2 separate regions of the Homo sapiens genome follow, and region 1 is linked to region 2. Evidence: promoter capture Hi-C in 16 types of primary human blood cells and fetal thymus (Javierre and others, 2016). All regions are on one chromosome and are shown on one strand. The core of a region is centred on a gene start or on the middle of the fragment in contact, and the rest is flanking DNA. Distances in the headings are between cores, read along the strand shown.

Region 1 (7,115 bases), core at 442-2,941, 120 kb before region 2:
TCAAGTGATTCTCATGTCTCAGCCTCCCAAGTAGCTGGGACTATAGGCACCCACCACCACGCCTGGCTGATGTTTGTATTTTTAGTAGAGATGGGATTTCGTCATGTTGGCCAGGCTTGTCTTGAACTCCTTACCTCAGGTGATCCACCTGGTTTGGCCTCCCAAAGTGCTGGGATTACAGGTGTGAGCCACCGTGCCTGGCCAGTTCTATAATTTTCAAAACTAACTCCCTATACAGACATTTAGGTTTTTTATCATTTTCTTTCTGAGAAACAGTATGTTTGTAAAGATTGCCTCATGTTTAGAAAGATGATACAATTCCTACCAGAATTTTTTTCTCAAATGGAAATGCTTATTACAATTAGGATTAGTAAATTGTGTAGAGGAAGTCAAGGCTTCCCTTGTAAAGGACAAAATGGCTTCGTATCTAGAGCAGAATACAGTCTTGTAGCCAGGAGTTTCAGACCAGCCAGGGCAACATAGGGAGACCCCGTTCATACCAAAATAAATAAATAAAAATAAAAAGAATACAGTCTTTAGGGAAGCAAACCCTTTGAATACAGTGTGTATCTCTAGCTGAAATTCAAACTGTGCCTCTCTTTTGTTCATGATTAGTTACACAGTGAGTTTAGGTAGAATGGGGGGTGGGCAGGGGTCACAGAGAAAAAGAATCCAGCGTTGTGTATCTTATCTTAGCGACATTTATATTACCCACCATGTGAAAGTTCTTTTGAGAAGCTTCCCTCTCCTCCAGTTATTTTCTTTTTTAGTACAAAACAACCTTTTTAATATTTATAAAACTTGGTATAAGGCCAGTCATTTTGTGGGAAGAAAGTCCAATACGATAATGAATCTATGAGCATTAGCAAGAATGAATGAGATGAGATTATTTAAATATACTTTGGCTAATTTAACATCTGTGTGTGTAAGTGTTGAAATGGGTCACCATGTTATTTCCAAAAACGTGGCTTGGGAATTATGCCTTCTTTTCACTTAGCACATGTAACTGGATAAACCGAGACTTAAGTAGCTTTTAGGGGAAGGAGGGAAAGTAGACAGATGGGAGTAGCTGCTCCAGCATAGGTGTGTCAAGCAAATTGTCACCCTTTTATCTCTGGGCCAGAGTTGTTTCAGTTCCTGCATCAGGAATCAAGTGTATGATCTGCTTCCATGCCGGGGAACTCCTTTAAAACAACAAGATGTTGAATTTTTTTCTTTTACAGTTGATAAAGTTAATTTCCCTTTTCAGTTAGCAGTTTGCCTTTAGAATTTTGGAACTAAAATATTCCTTGCTAAGGCTTTTATTTTCTCCTCCCTCACATGTACTCTGGGTTATTTAGGATTTAAATTAGACATTTAAAGGGTATGTATTTGTGTGTGCGTGCATTTTCTTTTAACTGTGAGTGACAGCAATACCAGGAGAAAAGTTAATACTCCATCTTGCCAAAAGATGATGGTTTTATTTTTCTCTCATGAAACAAAACCTGGGAGGAAGAGTTGAATGAACTTTGCAAACAGTTGAGCAAGTAGATTGGCTTCCAGACTAAACCCTGGATTGAGGTACAGCTAGAATAACTCACTTAGGTTTTCTGTTTATTCTTTCAGGAAGAAGAAATTTGATGCCTAGAGATTGATCTGCTTTTTGTTTTTAAGTTCTAGTTCTGGTTCGATTTCAGAACCAGTCTGCAGGCAACTCTGCATTGTCTCCTTAGAGAACTGGACAATTCCACTGATCTGGATCCTTTGGCAGCAAGCTGACATTTTATTGAGGCTGGTCAGCACTCCTGGCCAGAGTCTTGAAATTGTGGGTGTGTTTTTGCTGCCCATTGTTGAGTTATTCATGAACAGATATGAAAACCATATATATCCGAATTTTGTTACCACTAGATGTGATGAGTTTTTCTTTTTGATTATTTGGGGATTCTTAGTTCTCTGTCAAACTCTTCAGATTAAAACCCTTCTTATAGCTATTACTTTGGACTTCTTATATTTTACAGTATAGGGAAGAGAAAGCTGTCATGGTTATTGCTGGCTCCTTTTTTAGAAATAGGTAGAGTATTATATATGCTTTTGACTTGAACAGGATTGCCTGGTGCAAATAATAGTTTTACTTAATTCTTTTAGCTGTAAAATAGGGATCATAATTCCTACTTCATAGAGCTGTTTTGAGAATGAAATGAGATAAGGTGTCACTACAGTTCCTGGCACAGAAGGACTCAATGAAAATTAGTAGTTTTTCCCTTTTCCCTATTTTAAATAACAAGGTTGATCTTCACTTACTAGTTCGTATTAGGACAAGGAAATTATAAAATCATCAAGGAAACAGTAGACTTAACAAATAAATGAAACTTAAAACTATTAAAAACGTATATAGATTTAATCAACATTTTCATCCTCTTCCTACTAAATGAAACCTTTGAGTTGGAGGAGAATACACCAAGACTGAAATTCACTTACTTTTCTTTCCTCTGATTATTCTAATATGTAACAAAACACTTGAGAGGTTCTCAGAAAAGACCAAGAGATTCTTCCTATGAATGTTAGGCTATAGTAATATTTTTATGTACTAAAATATATAAACCTGTTTTTAGAAAAGAGCCTGAATTAGCAGAACAGGAATTTCCCAACTACAAAGGAAGCTTAACCAAAACGCTTAAGGTTAGTTTTTAAAAAACATTTGAATATATAAGAACTTTGTTCAGTTTTTTTAACCTCGCCCCCCATTCAGGTTTCTTAATCTGCTTTGACATCACTATTTTAATCTCCACAGTTTTATTTACTTAAGACATTAGCCAGTGTTTAATCATCTTTAGAGAGAGATATATAATTATGAAATTGTATCATATTATGTTGACATTACTTAAAATGTTTTAACTTGTATTTGTCCTAGGGGACTTTTGGCAGTGTCTAGAGACATTTCTGGTTGTATAACCTGGGCAAGGCAGGGGATGCTACTGGCATTTAGAGGGTAAAAAGTTTGAGATGCTGCTAAACATCCTGCGGTACAAAGGACAGCTCGAAACAAAGAATTGGCTTATTCAAAATGTTAGTAGTTCCCAAGTTAAGAAACCCTGCGGAACACTACAGTGAAGTCCACATGAACATGTGATAGTTTGTTTTTTACAATTCTGGAATTGGCTTTTTTCTGCACTTGGCACAGTATATGCTCATATAGGGCATATTTGATAAATGAATAAACTAACAAAGTGAGATAGATCCCAACCTGAATTTTGTAGTAAGCAAGTCCTTTTGCAAGTGAGTTGATTTCTGCAAATGGATCTTTAAGTTTTTTTTAATTCTTTTTTTAAATTTTTGAGACAGTCTTGCTCTGTCACCCAGGCTGGAGTGCAGTGGTATGATCTTGGCTCATTGCAGCCTCTGCCTGCTGGGTTCAAGCGATTCTTGTGCCTCAGCTTCCCAAGTAGCTGGGATTACAGGCACATGCCACCACACCAGCTAATTTTTGTATGTTTAGTAGAGACGGGGTTTTGCCATGTTGGCCAGAATGGTCTGGAACTCCTGACCTCAGGTGATCCGCCCTCCTCAGCCTCCTAAAGTGCTGGGATTACAGGCGTCAGCTACTGCACCCTGCCACACATTATTATTATTATTATTTTATTATACTTTAAGTTCTAGGGTACATGTGCACAACGTGCAGGTTTGTTACATATGTATACATGTGCCATGTTGGTGTGCTGCACCCATCAACTCATCATTTACATTAGGTATATCTCCTAATGCTATTCCTCCCTCCACATTATTTTTAAAATAGAAAAAATTTGGCCGAGCGTGGTGGCTCACGTTGGTAATCCCAGCACTTTGGGAGGCCAAGGTCAGTGGATCACCTGAGGTCAGGAGTTCGAGACCAGCCTGGCCAACATGGCGAAACCCCATCTCTACTAAAAATACAAAAATTAGCTGGGTGTGGTGGCAGGCACCTGTAATCCCAGTTACTTGGGAGGCCAAGGCAGGAGAATCACTTGAACCTGGGAGGCAGAGGTTGCAGTGAGCCAAGATTACACCATTGCACTCCAGCCTGGGCAACAAGAGCGAAACTCTGCCTCAAAAAAAAAAAAGTAATAAATAATAGAAAAAATTCAAGGCCAGGCATGGTGGCTCACGCCTGTAATCCCAACACTTTGAGAGCCGAGGTGGGCAGATCACTTGAGGTAAGGAGTTTGAGACCAGCCTGGACGACATGGTGAAACCCTGTCTCTACTAAAAATAATAATAATAATAATACAAAAATTAGCTGAGCTTGGTGGTGCAGGCCTGTAGTTCCAGCCACTGGGGAGGCTGTGGCATGAGAATCGCTTGAACGTGAACCTGGGAGGCGGAGGTTTTAGTGAGCCAAGATCGCTTCACTGCACTCCAGCCTGGGTGACACAGTGAGACTCTGTCTCATAAACAAATAAATACAGTAAGTAAGTAAGTAAAGTGTTGGTCAAACAAAAGGAGGCCAGTTTGGAAACTCTGGTTCCTTAACCTGCTGTTGAGACTCTGAGCACTAGAGAATAATCTGGTCTTACTTAGTTTTCTTTGTTTCTGGTAGACAGATTTGCAAATTGCTTTTCCAGTTTCATCAGAAGAAACAAGTGTGGACACATACGTCTCTGTCAATACACTGTTTAGATTATTGGAGAATAAATAGGCAACCTACTGCGAAGCCATGTGTCTAAATGTATATAATAGTTAAAGCAGAAGCCTGCATCTAGCTAGAATTCTGTATAGCAGTGTGCGGGTTTTTTGGCTTTTTGTTTTTTTGTGGGTTGTTTTGTTTTTGTTTTTTTTGAAGCGAACTTTTGCTATATTGCTAAGGCTAGTCTTGAACTCCTGGGCTCAAGCAATACTGCCTTGACCTCCTAAAGTGCTTGGATTACAGGCATGAGCTACTGCGCCTGGCCTGCAATATGTATTTTAAGCTACTTTTTTTATTATTCCCTAAATAAAAATAATTTCTCCTATGCCTGACGAAATCAGTCTTATTTACGTTCAAAAACTATACTGAGGAGAGGAGGACTGTATTTACTTTGGACTTTTGAGCAACTCATTTACACATATTACACTTACATTTCTGATGTGCCTATTTTTAACCAAACCTTGAATTTGATACATTAGCTGATTGGCCACATAAATGTTTTGGTCTTCATAAAGCAAGACATGTTTGTGCAAGTATTGGAATATTTTATTCCATTTTATCCTTACTTTCTTTAAGTTATTGAAAAATGTAAAAAGGAAAGTACTGATACCCACAATGAAAATGTGTAAGTATCAGACTCCTTAAAAAAAAACAAACAAACAACTTTTTATTATGAAAAATTGCAGCAGCCTGGGCACATGGCGAAACTCCATCTCTACAAAAAATGCACAGATTAGCTGGGCGTAGTGGCACGTGCCTGTAGTACTCAGAATGCTGAAGTGGGAGGATTGCGTGAGCCTAGGAGGTTGAGGCTGACAGAGTGAGACCCTGTCTAAAAAAAAAAAAGAAAGAAAATATCAGACCTACACACAAAAGTAAAGTGTAAGGTATAATGAATCCCTGTACCCATCACTAAACTTCAACAGTTATCAATATTTTGCCAATCTTTTATATTAAATCCTTTATATGTGTTATCAAGTTGAATACTCAAATCTTTGCGGGTAGACATTACTATACCCCTTTTATTTTTTATTGTGGAAAATTTCATACAGTAGAGAGACTAGCATAATGAATCTCTCCATGTGCATGTAACCAATCTTCAGTACTTAACACATGTCCCATTTTACATCATCTATGATAGCTCTCCATCCACTCCACCACCAAAACCTCCACTGAATATTTTGAAGCAAAACTTTAACGTGCTGTGATTTTAGCTGTAAATATTTAAGTGTATATCTCTTAAAAGTATTCTTTTAAAAGCAATTACCATTATTACATCTAAAAATAATAATAATTTCTTGATATCCAGTATTTAGTCAGTGTTCATATTTCCTTAATTGTATCGTAAGTTTTTTGTTGTAGCTACTTTCCTTGAGTCAGGATGTAAACAAGGTCCACATATTCCATTTGACCGTTAAATCTTTTTGTTTTATTTGTTTGAGATGGAGTCTTCTCTGTGGCCAGAGGGCACGGTGCGATCTTGGCTCACCGCAACCTCTGCCTCCCGTGTTCAAGCGATTCTTCTGCCTCAGCCCTTGAGTAGCTGGGATTACAGGTGTCCACCACCACATCCAGTTAATTTTTGTATTTTTAGTAGAGGCAGAGTTTCACCATGTTGGCTGGGCTGGTCTCGAACTCCTGACCTCAAGTGATCCACCTGCCTCGGCCTCCCAAAGTGCTGGAATTACAGGCGTGAGCCACCATATCCGGTCTGGCTGTTAAGTTTTTTTTTTTTTTTTTTTGAGATGGAGTGTCACTCTGTCGCCCAGGCTGGAGTACAATGGCAGGATCTTGGCTCACGGCAACCTCTGCCTCCGGGGTTCAAGTGATTCTCCTGCCTCAGCCTCCTGAGTAGCTGGGATTTCAGGCTCCTGCCACCACGACCGGCTAATTTTTGTATTTTTAGTAGAGATGGGGTTTCACCATGTTGGCCAAGCTGGTCTTGAACTCCTATCCTCAGGTGATCTGCCCACCTCGACCTCCCACAGTGTTGGGATTACAGATGGGAGCCACTGCACCCAGCCGACTGTTAAGTCTTTTAAGTCTCATTTTATCTCTCCCACCCTGCCCCCTTATCCCTAGCAATTTTTTTTTTTTTTTTTTTAGTTCTGGAGTACATGTGCAGAATGTGCAGGTTTGTTACATAGGTACATGTGTGCCATAGTGGTTTGCTGCACCTGTCAACCCATCCACCACCTAGGTATTAAACCCAGCACGCATTAGCTATTTTTCCTAATACTCTCCCTAAATTTTTCTATTGTTTTAAACAGGTTTTTGGGTGGTGGTGGGGATTTATCATACCATAAAATTCATCCAAATACAAATGTATAGTTTAATAATTTGTAGTAATTTTTTTTTTTTTTTTTTTTTGAGATGGAGTCTCGTTCCTGTCACTCAGGCTGGAATGCAGTGGCGCCATCTCGGCTCGCTGCAACCTCTGTCTCCCAGGTTCAAGTAGTTCCCCTTCCTCAGCCTC
Region 2 (7,767 bases), core at 4,820-7,319:
TTGAGCCCCCAGGAGTTGGAGACGAGCCTGGGCAATATAGTGAAACCCCATTTCTACAAAAAATAAAAAAATTAGCCAGGCATGGCGGTGCACACCTGTAGACCCAGCTAGTCAAGAGGCTGAGGTGGGAGGATCGTTTGAGCCCAGGAGGTTGAGGCTGCAGTGAGCTGTGACTGTGCCACTGCACTCCAGCCTCGGTGACAGAGACCTTGTCTTTAAAAAAAGAAAAAAAAGCATTGCTTTCCCTGTGGCTGCCACAGCTCTGTCTTCCCTGTATCCACTCTTTCCGTCACTGCCACCCAGAGCCCCCAGGGTCCCCTCTTGTGATTCCACTGGCCCCTGGCCTGCTGACCCCAGCAGAGTGGCCGGGTGGGTATCTGTGAGTGTGGGCCCCTGTGTTCTATGAAAGCGGCCGGGAGTGGGCAGCAGATGATGTGTGAAGTCACCCCCCTCCGCCCAGTACACTGGGGTTGGTTGCCATGGGAGAGCAGATGGCTGGGCTGGGTTGGGCTGGGGAGGCCTCCTGACCACACCCTCATCCCTGCCCACCCGGCCAGTCAGTGGAGAGCTGGGCAGCCCCCAGCCATGGAGCTTCCTCTCTGAGGACGAGGACAGAGCTTGCCCCTTTGCCCCTCTTTCCCCCTTCCAGCCAGGACTGAGCCCCTCTCTTCCCCCTCCCCCAGGCAGTGCTGAGGGGCTGCCTCTGCCATAGGGCGCAGATTCAGGAGGAGGACCTGGTGGTCAGCAGCGGGGCAGAGTGCACATGGCCCCTCCTCACTGCACACAGGGGTGCCGCTGGTCCAGGAGGACCTGTCTGGGAGGGCCCTGTGCTGGTGCCTGCCCCACCTGCCAGCCCCAGGAGGCTGGGCAGGAGGGGAGAGCTGAGAGAGGAGGGTGCAGAAGAGGAAGGGGTTGCTGGGGTGGGCGGAGAGCCTCTGAACGGCACCCTGGGGCTGCCTTGCTGGCTCACACCGGCCTCGGGCGGCTGTGAGCTGAGCCCCTCTCTGAGGCAGGCACCTACGGCAGGGGCCTCTGCTGCTTGTTAATTTCCAGATAATTTGGAAAGTTGTGCTGCCTCTTCCAGTCCTGTTTCTGACAGGCCTGAAGTGGAGGCGTAGGGCTGGATTTAGTGGGATGCAGGCCAGGACTTGGAGTGCAGGGAGGCCCCACCCCCCCCCATCCGTGCTGTGTCCCTTACCTGGCAGCTCTGCCCACACACCTTGGATACTGCCCCTGCCCCCGGGTCTCTGGGGACTGGCCTTGGGCATGCCAAAGGGGATGACCACTGGAGGGATTTGGCTTCAGGCTATAGGGCCCGCCCACCTTCCCACAGTCAGAGCCACTACTGGTAATGACAAACACTGCCCCGCAGTGGAGGATGGGAAGCCCTTTATGGTAACAGCTCCAGCTTGAGTCCTGAGTGCATGCTCTGCGGTCTGGGGTCACCTGGGGTGCTTACCAGTAGGCACACGCCTGGGTTATGAGGTGGAAGGTGCGAGCTCTGCTGGCCATGGGAGCTGCGTGGGGCATTGCCCCTCTCTCTGCCTCCAGGTAGCCGTCGTTCCGTCCTGGTCCCAGGGCAGCAGTGAGGAATGACTGGTGTTGGGGTGTGGGCTGTCCGTTCTGTGTGTGACAGTAGGTTCACCTCCGTGCTATCCACAAAGGTTCCGTGCCCTCGCCTGGGTTTTGTTTTTGTTTTTTTGAGACGTAGTTTCGCTCTCTCGCCCAGGCTGGAGTGCAATGGCACCATCTTGGCTCACTGCAACCTCCGCCTCCCGGGTTCAAGTGATTCTCCAGCCTCAGCCTCCTGAGTAGCTGGGATTACAGGCATGTGCCACCACGCCCGGCTAATTTTGTATTTTTAGTAGAGACGGGGTTTCACCATGTTGGTCAGGCTGGTCTTGAACTCTTGACCTCAGATGATCTGCCCGCCTTGGCCTCCCAAAGTGCTGGGATTACAGGCGTGAGCCACTGTGCCCAGCTGTTTTTTGTTTTTTTTTTTGAGATGGAGCCTTGCTCTATCGCCCAGGCTGGAGTACAGTGGCGTGATCTCAGCTCACTGCTTCACCTCCTGGTTCAAGCAATTATCCTGCCTCAGCCTCCTGAGTAGCTGGGATTACAGGTGCCCGCCACCACGGCCAGCTAATTTTTGTATTTTTAGTAGAGACGGAGTTTCGCCATGTTGGACAGGCTAGTCTCGACCTCCTAAAGTGCTGAGATTACAGGCGTGAGCCACCTTGCCCAGCCTTGCCTTGGTTTTGAGCTTGCCACTGTGAGTGTCCAGCCTAGGGGGATGGTGTCAGCTCTCATTGGCCCTCCAGAGATACCGTTTCTTCCTGTTCCTGGGGCTGGCAGTGCTCACCTCCGGCCTCAGGAAATCCTCTCCTGCTGCCGCTCCCAGAGCTGGCCATCAACCGAGTCCACCCTCCCTGCTGCTGGGAGGCCGAGGCTTCAGGAGGGGAGGGGGCTGTGTGCCTTTACACTGTGCAAACTGGTTTTAGCCTGCTCTTTTCACTTTAGTTTGTTGTAAGCATTTTCTTGCATTATTTCAGTCTTTGGAAGAGGCCATCTAATAGCTGCAAGCTATTCTACTGAGGCGCTGTGGTTTGTCTCACCGGTCCCCTAGAATTAGCATTGATAGGTGAGCCTGTTTTGCTCCATGCTTTGCTGTCATAAATGCTGCAGTGGACATTGGTGAGCATTGAGCAAGAAAAGTTCTGTGCAGTGGGTCTGTCCTGAAGGCAGATCTCAGAAAGCCCAAAGAGCAGGAACCCTATCCCAGGCTTATCTTTCCACTTGGGTCCAGTATAACCCCCTCCACTCCAGACACTTAGTGTCCTGGTGTGCTGGGTCCACCTGTTTTCTGTACAAACAGCTATTCCAGGCCCTGAGGGGTTGGAGACATCCCTTCCAGCCTGTGAGCTCATCTTCAACCTGGCTGGAGGTGCCAGGCCACTCCTGGGATGACACAACTGTCTGGGAGGGCCCTGTGCTGGTGCCCCGGCCACATATCTGCAGCTGTCTCCCTTGGTCTGGCAACAACCTCTCCCAGCTCCTCCTTATTCAGGGCGTCTCTCCTTGCTGCCAGTCCCACTGTGTGTATACGCATGCGTGTGTGCTGTGTGTATGCAAGTGTGTGCCTCTGCACTTAGGCGTGACTTAACCACCCCCATCCTCCAGACTGGGGCAGCCTCAGATTTCTTCACCCAGGCCAGCCTATCCCATGAGGGCCACCTCTGAGGTCCCACCCAGTCAACAAATGTTTACTGCACCCCTTCTCACCAATGGGGCTAAACTTAGTGGGGTGGGGGTGGTGCTGGCCCCAGTGCTGAGCTCAGTTTTACTGGGGAGGAAGGTGCTTAGGTCTCAGTTGCCTGTCCTTTTGCAGTCTGAGTGTGACAGGGGTGTTTGGCTTTCTGAGCCTGGAGTGCTGCTGTCCCTGTCCCTAGATTCCCTTCCTGCTGCAGGGTGGGCTGAGGTCTAGCAGCCCCATTTCTTCCCTGGCCCTGTCCCTTCTGTGCCCCGAAATGTGTGGGATGGGGCAGTGGTTGGTAAACTGGGTCTCGGTCTCTTCATGTGAAAAATGGGGCTAGGCTGGGTGCAGTGGCTCACGCCTATAATCCCAGCACTTTGGGAGGCTGAGGTGGGTGAATCACTTGAGGTCAGGAGTTCGAGACCAGCCTGACCAATATGGTGAAACCCCATCTCAAAAAAAAAAAAAATTGGGGCTAACGGTGAGCCTGTTTTGCAGGATTGCTGTGTGCACAAAATAAATGCATGGGCATAGGGCCCCTGGCACTGGCTGGGCGCAGAGGCTGTGCTGGGTATGTGGGGCTGCATCCCTGTCCTTGACAGCGGAGGTCCGGGAGGCTGGACTGGGGGTGGGGTGAGGTTCTGCCCCCATATACCCCGGCCAGAGCCTGGCCAGTGGGTGCTCCTCCCCCACCCCCCAGCTACATCCCCATCAACACTGTGGGGCTTAACTTCTGGGGCCTTGTTTCCAAAGCGGAAATGCCATTCTGGGAGGCACAGGCTTTTGGGGGAGGGAATTTAAGTGGAAAAGGAGCAAATTTTTGAAATGCCTGTGTCGGAGCCTGTTTCCCTTGCTGCCTCCTGCTCACACCAGCAGCCCCACCCCCAGTGCTGTTCTAATGCAGCTACTGGGGGAGGAGGGTCTCATCCCCCAAGGTTCCAGCCATCCACCTCCTCTCTGCACCGCCCTCCTTGGCCAACTAGGATGGAGCAGGGGCCAGCTCCCTTGAGGGCCAGGCCTTTTGTGTCCTTGCCCGTCCCTGCAGAGACTGCTGCCTGGGGCCCTGCCAGCAGGGCACTGCCTGCCCATGAGGCCTGGTCTCCCCTCCCCACAGAAGTGGAGGCCCAGGGATGACCTCAGGCTCCTGAGGGTCCCGCTGGTTCAGACCTGCTCTCTGGGAAGCTGGTGTGCCAGCCAGGCTGAGGAGTGGGTGGCTGGACAGGGTCAGGGTGCAGGAGGGGCCCGGCACAGCTCTTGGGAACAAGCAGGAGGAGATGCTCCAGGCAGCTTCCCTGAAGGCTGGCTCCTCTTCTGAGGCGAGGCGGGCTGTGTCGGGGAGGCACAGGGTGTTGGCTAGCTGTTCTGTTCCTCCTGAGGACTCTGGGTCATGCTCTGTCTCATCCCACTGCTCCTTCCTCACCCGCTGTGCTGTGAGTTCTGGCCAATGCTTCCCAAGCCAAATATTGAAGAAATGCAGACGTCCAGTTTTTTGGGAGGGGTGGGACACAGGAGTCTGTTTTTTAACTAGCTCCCCAGAGCACCTGAGCAGCAAATCATGGGCTGTCCTAGCCCCTTTTCAGATGAGAAAGGAGCCCAGAGAGGGGAGAGGGCCTGCCAAGGTGGCACATCTGGCCAGGCGCTGCGTAGGCTGAGCCCTGGGGGTCAGACAGAGGGGCAGCTGCAGGCCCACCTGGGCTTGTGTCTTCCATAGGCCATGCTTGAGAATTCTCTGCTGCGTGAAGCCGGGTCTACCCCGCTGCTTCCCTGCCACCAGGGCTGCCTCGTGGCATCCCATTGCTCAGCCAGTGGCCCAGGATTGTTGACTGAGGGTCCTGTCTGGTCTGGACCAGGCTCGGTCCTATCATCTCCCTGCAGATTGTGCCTCCCTGGCCTGGCCCAGGGGCTCTGGCACCCTGGTTCTGCTGCATGGGGTGACAGTCACTGACCTGCAACCGAGCAAGGGGCAACTCAGGAGAGCCAAGGTTGTCTCCACTCGGTTTCCCCCGAGTGATTCTTCCTTCTATCTCCCTCATTCCCCCAGTGCCGCTCTCCTACCCCATGTCGCTGAAGCAGATGAGTTGGAGCAGGACTCAGGAGGGTACTAGGCCCAGGTTTTAGGCTGAACCTAGGAATGAGTAATGAGAGGAGGCAGATCAGCTGGAGGACCAGCCCGAGTCCCCAGATGTCGGCACAATGCAGGGGAAGGTAGGTGCTGCCCGTGAAAAGCGCTGGGTCGAGAGCTCGCCAGCCTCCCTGCTTGAGGCTTCATTTCCTGGGGTCCTTACACGGTGGGACCGTCTACAGTCGGAGCTGTGGTGGTGATGATTCGTCTCCTACAGGCTGGGGCACGCCCCCTCCCCTTTCCCTCTAGATTCAGATTTGAGTCCCACGGCCCATGGACACGCGATGAATGCCCTGGGGTTGGTTAGCGGGAAAGACAAGTCGACTTGAGGCCATGTCTCGGCTCTGGAGGAAGAAGGCAAACCGGGCAGCCTTCCCAGAAGTGGAGGAGTTTGCGTAGGCCTTCGGTGCGTTCTCGCCTGGGTGGAAGGCGGGGACGTGCATTTGTTGGAGAGCGGTGTCCTGCGCCCTAGGCTGGAAGCCTGGCCTCGGGCAGGGGCCTGGAGCCTCGGGGTTGGAGGTGGGGGGCGGGGCGGGGGGCGGCCCCTACTGGGCGGGCTTCTGTCTGCGCGCCCGCGCCCCCGACAGGCGGCTTATTTGCATGGAGAGCGGCGGCGGCCAATGGGCGCGCGCGGCCGGGCATGCTGGGATCGGGCTGGGCCGGCTGGGCCGTGGCGGCAGGCGGAGAGCGGCTGGACCGGCTCTGGGTGGCCGAGGCGGCAGCTGCGCGGCGGCACCGGGGCGGCTGCGGCGCGCTCGGAGCCCCGAGGGCACGCGGCCCGGGCAGCTCGGTGTGCGCCCCCGCGAGAGCCGGGGCCCCAGGCCCGCCGGACACCATGAACCACCTGGTGAGGGCGCCAGGTGGGGCCGGGCCGCGTACGGGCTTGGAGGCGGCAGCGGGCTGGAAGGGGTTAAGCGAGCGGCATTTCCTGCCGGACCTGCGGGGCCTGGGAACCGCCGGCCGGGGTCCGCGGCCCTGGGATCTCCTTCTGCCCTGGCCGGGAAGCCGGGAGGCAGGAACCGCGGGGGCTCCGGAGCCTGTGCGCCTCGGGTGCGTTGGCGGGGCCGGGCGCGGGGGCCGCCAGCCGGTAGGAGGGTTCCTGTGTCGGGAAAGTGGCTGGCGGGGCCCGCGCTCCCCGGCCGACGGCCGCCTGCTGTGTCACCTTGGGCCTCTGCGCCCTGCCTCCGAGCCTCAGTTTCCTCGGCTGCGAGGAGGGGCCGTTGAGCCTCTGGCGGGTGGTCCGGCTGGTGTGGCGTGGGGACTGCCCACCGGCTCCCGGAGAGGGAGGAGCTCCGGGGGACCGAGGCCGGGCGGGCAAGTGCGTGGCGCCAGCGGGGAAGGCTGCGCAGCCGGAGCACCCGGCTCCAGTTAATGATTCACTCCGGCCGCCGGCGCGGGGTTCCGGGAGCGGAGCGGGAGTGGGGGCGGGCGCGCCGCGGGCTTTGCAGCCCCGCACGCCGAGCGCCGGTGGAAGCCGGGTCCTGGCCACAGGAGTCCTAGCCGCACGCGAGTGTCGCGGGAGGGGGCCAGGGCCGGGTTCTGCAGTGTGGACATGAAGGCTTTGGAGTCCATGGTTGGGGGACCCGCAAGAGCTAGAGCAGGGTCGGAGCTCCCTCTCGAGGGTCCGAGAGGCTGATCGCTGGACCGAGGTGAGGGAGTTGGGAAAGCGGAGATTTGCCTAGGGGTGCGGGGTGAGGGGCTTACGGCCTGGAAGATGTTGGGGTTTCGAGTTCCAGATCGGGGACAGCAGCTCCTTTTCTACCACAAGGCTCCCGTTCCCTCCTGAGAGTCCCTGGTTTCCTTTCCCACACCCCTCCCGGGGCCCGCCGCAGCTTTGGTCACCTTCTCAGAATGACCATGGGTTGATCTCTTCTTTGCTAGTGAGATGTTTCCCATCGCCCTGGGCCGGGACACGCCCCCTCTTGTGCCCATTCCTTTCCCTCGGTGGAGAGTTGGGTGGTGGGGGCTGGCCGGCCTGTGAGAGCAGGTGTCGGGGTGCCTGGAGAATCGGGGCCCAGGTACGGGGGTGGCGGGGCTGTGGGGAAAAGAGCTTTGGGGAGGAGCTGCTGACACTTCCTCCTGGCACTGCTTGCCCGGGAGCTGGGTGGAGGCAGGGCAGGGCAGGGCAGTCCCAGGTTCTGCCAGGAAAGTCACCTTGGGCTGGGGCAGGAGGCTTGGAGCTTCTGGCCGTTACTGTTTGTCTGAGCAGGAGGGTGAGCACTGTGTACTGGTACCATGGCCCCAGGTCTAGGCGAGGGATGGAAATAAGGACAGTGCCACTAGGGCCTCCTGTCTGTACAGGAGGGGCCCTGAGACAGCTCCTCAAACCCCTTTCCCATTATACGGATGGTGCAGATGGGGACACTGAGGTACAGAGAGACAGTCAGTTGTC

Evidence for each region. The method cuts DNA at HindIII sites, captures the fragments that hold promoters and counts their contacts. A CHiCAGO score of 5 or more calls a contact.
Region 1: a fragment that was not itself captured here is called in contact with the fragment with the promoter of BCAR1 in region 2 in 15 of 17 cell types (endothelial precursors, M2 macrophages, M1 macrophages and 12 more); the score reaches 18.3 in endothelial precursors.

What each region holds. Positions count from the first base shown.
Region 1 is chr16:75,367,059-75,374,173 of GRCh38, reverse strand. The region is part of intron 5 of CFDP1 (craniofacial development protein 1); the gene reads left to right. Among named protein-coding and RNA genes, the nearest start is that of CFDP1, 63 kb to the left of the region's middle. The HindIII fragment of the contact is 1,901 bases long and covers 741-2,641 here.
Region 2 is chr16:75,249,926-75,257,692 of GRCh38, reverse strand. BCAR1 (BCAR1 scaffold protein, Cas family member) reads left to right here and starts at 6,069. Exons shown (of 7, transcript NM_014567.5): 1 at 6,069-6,222. The coding sequence starts at 6,211. It overlaps LOC105371344 (a long non-coding RNA gene), which reads right to left and starts at 1,895. Exons shown (of 3, transcript XR_933740.3): 1 at 1,460-1,895. RefSeq lists enhancers at 994-1,534, 1,248-1,542, 1,535-2,074, 2,075-2,615, 5,317-5,857 and 3 more and silencers at 1,248-1,542, 5,857-5,966, 6,027-6,186. The HindIII fragment of the contact is 27,287 bases long and covers 1-7,767 here.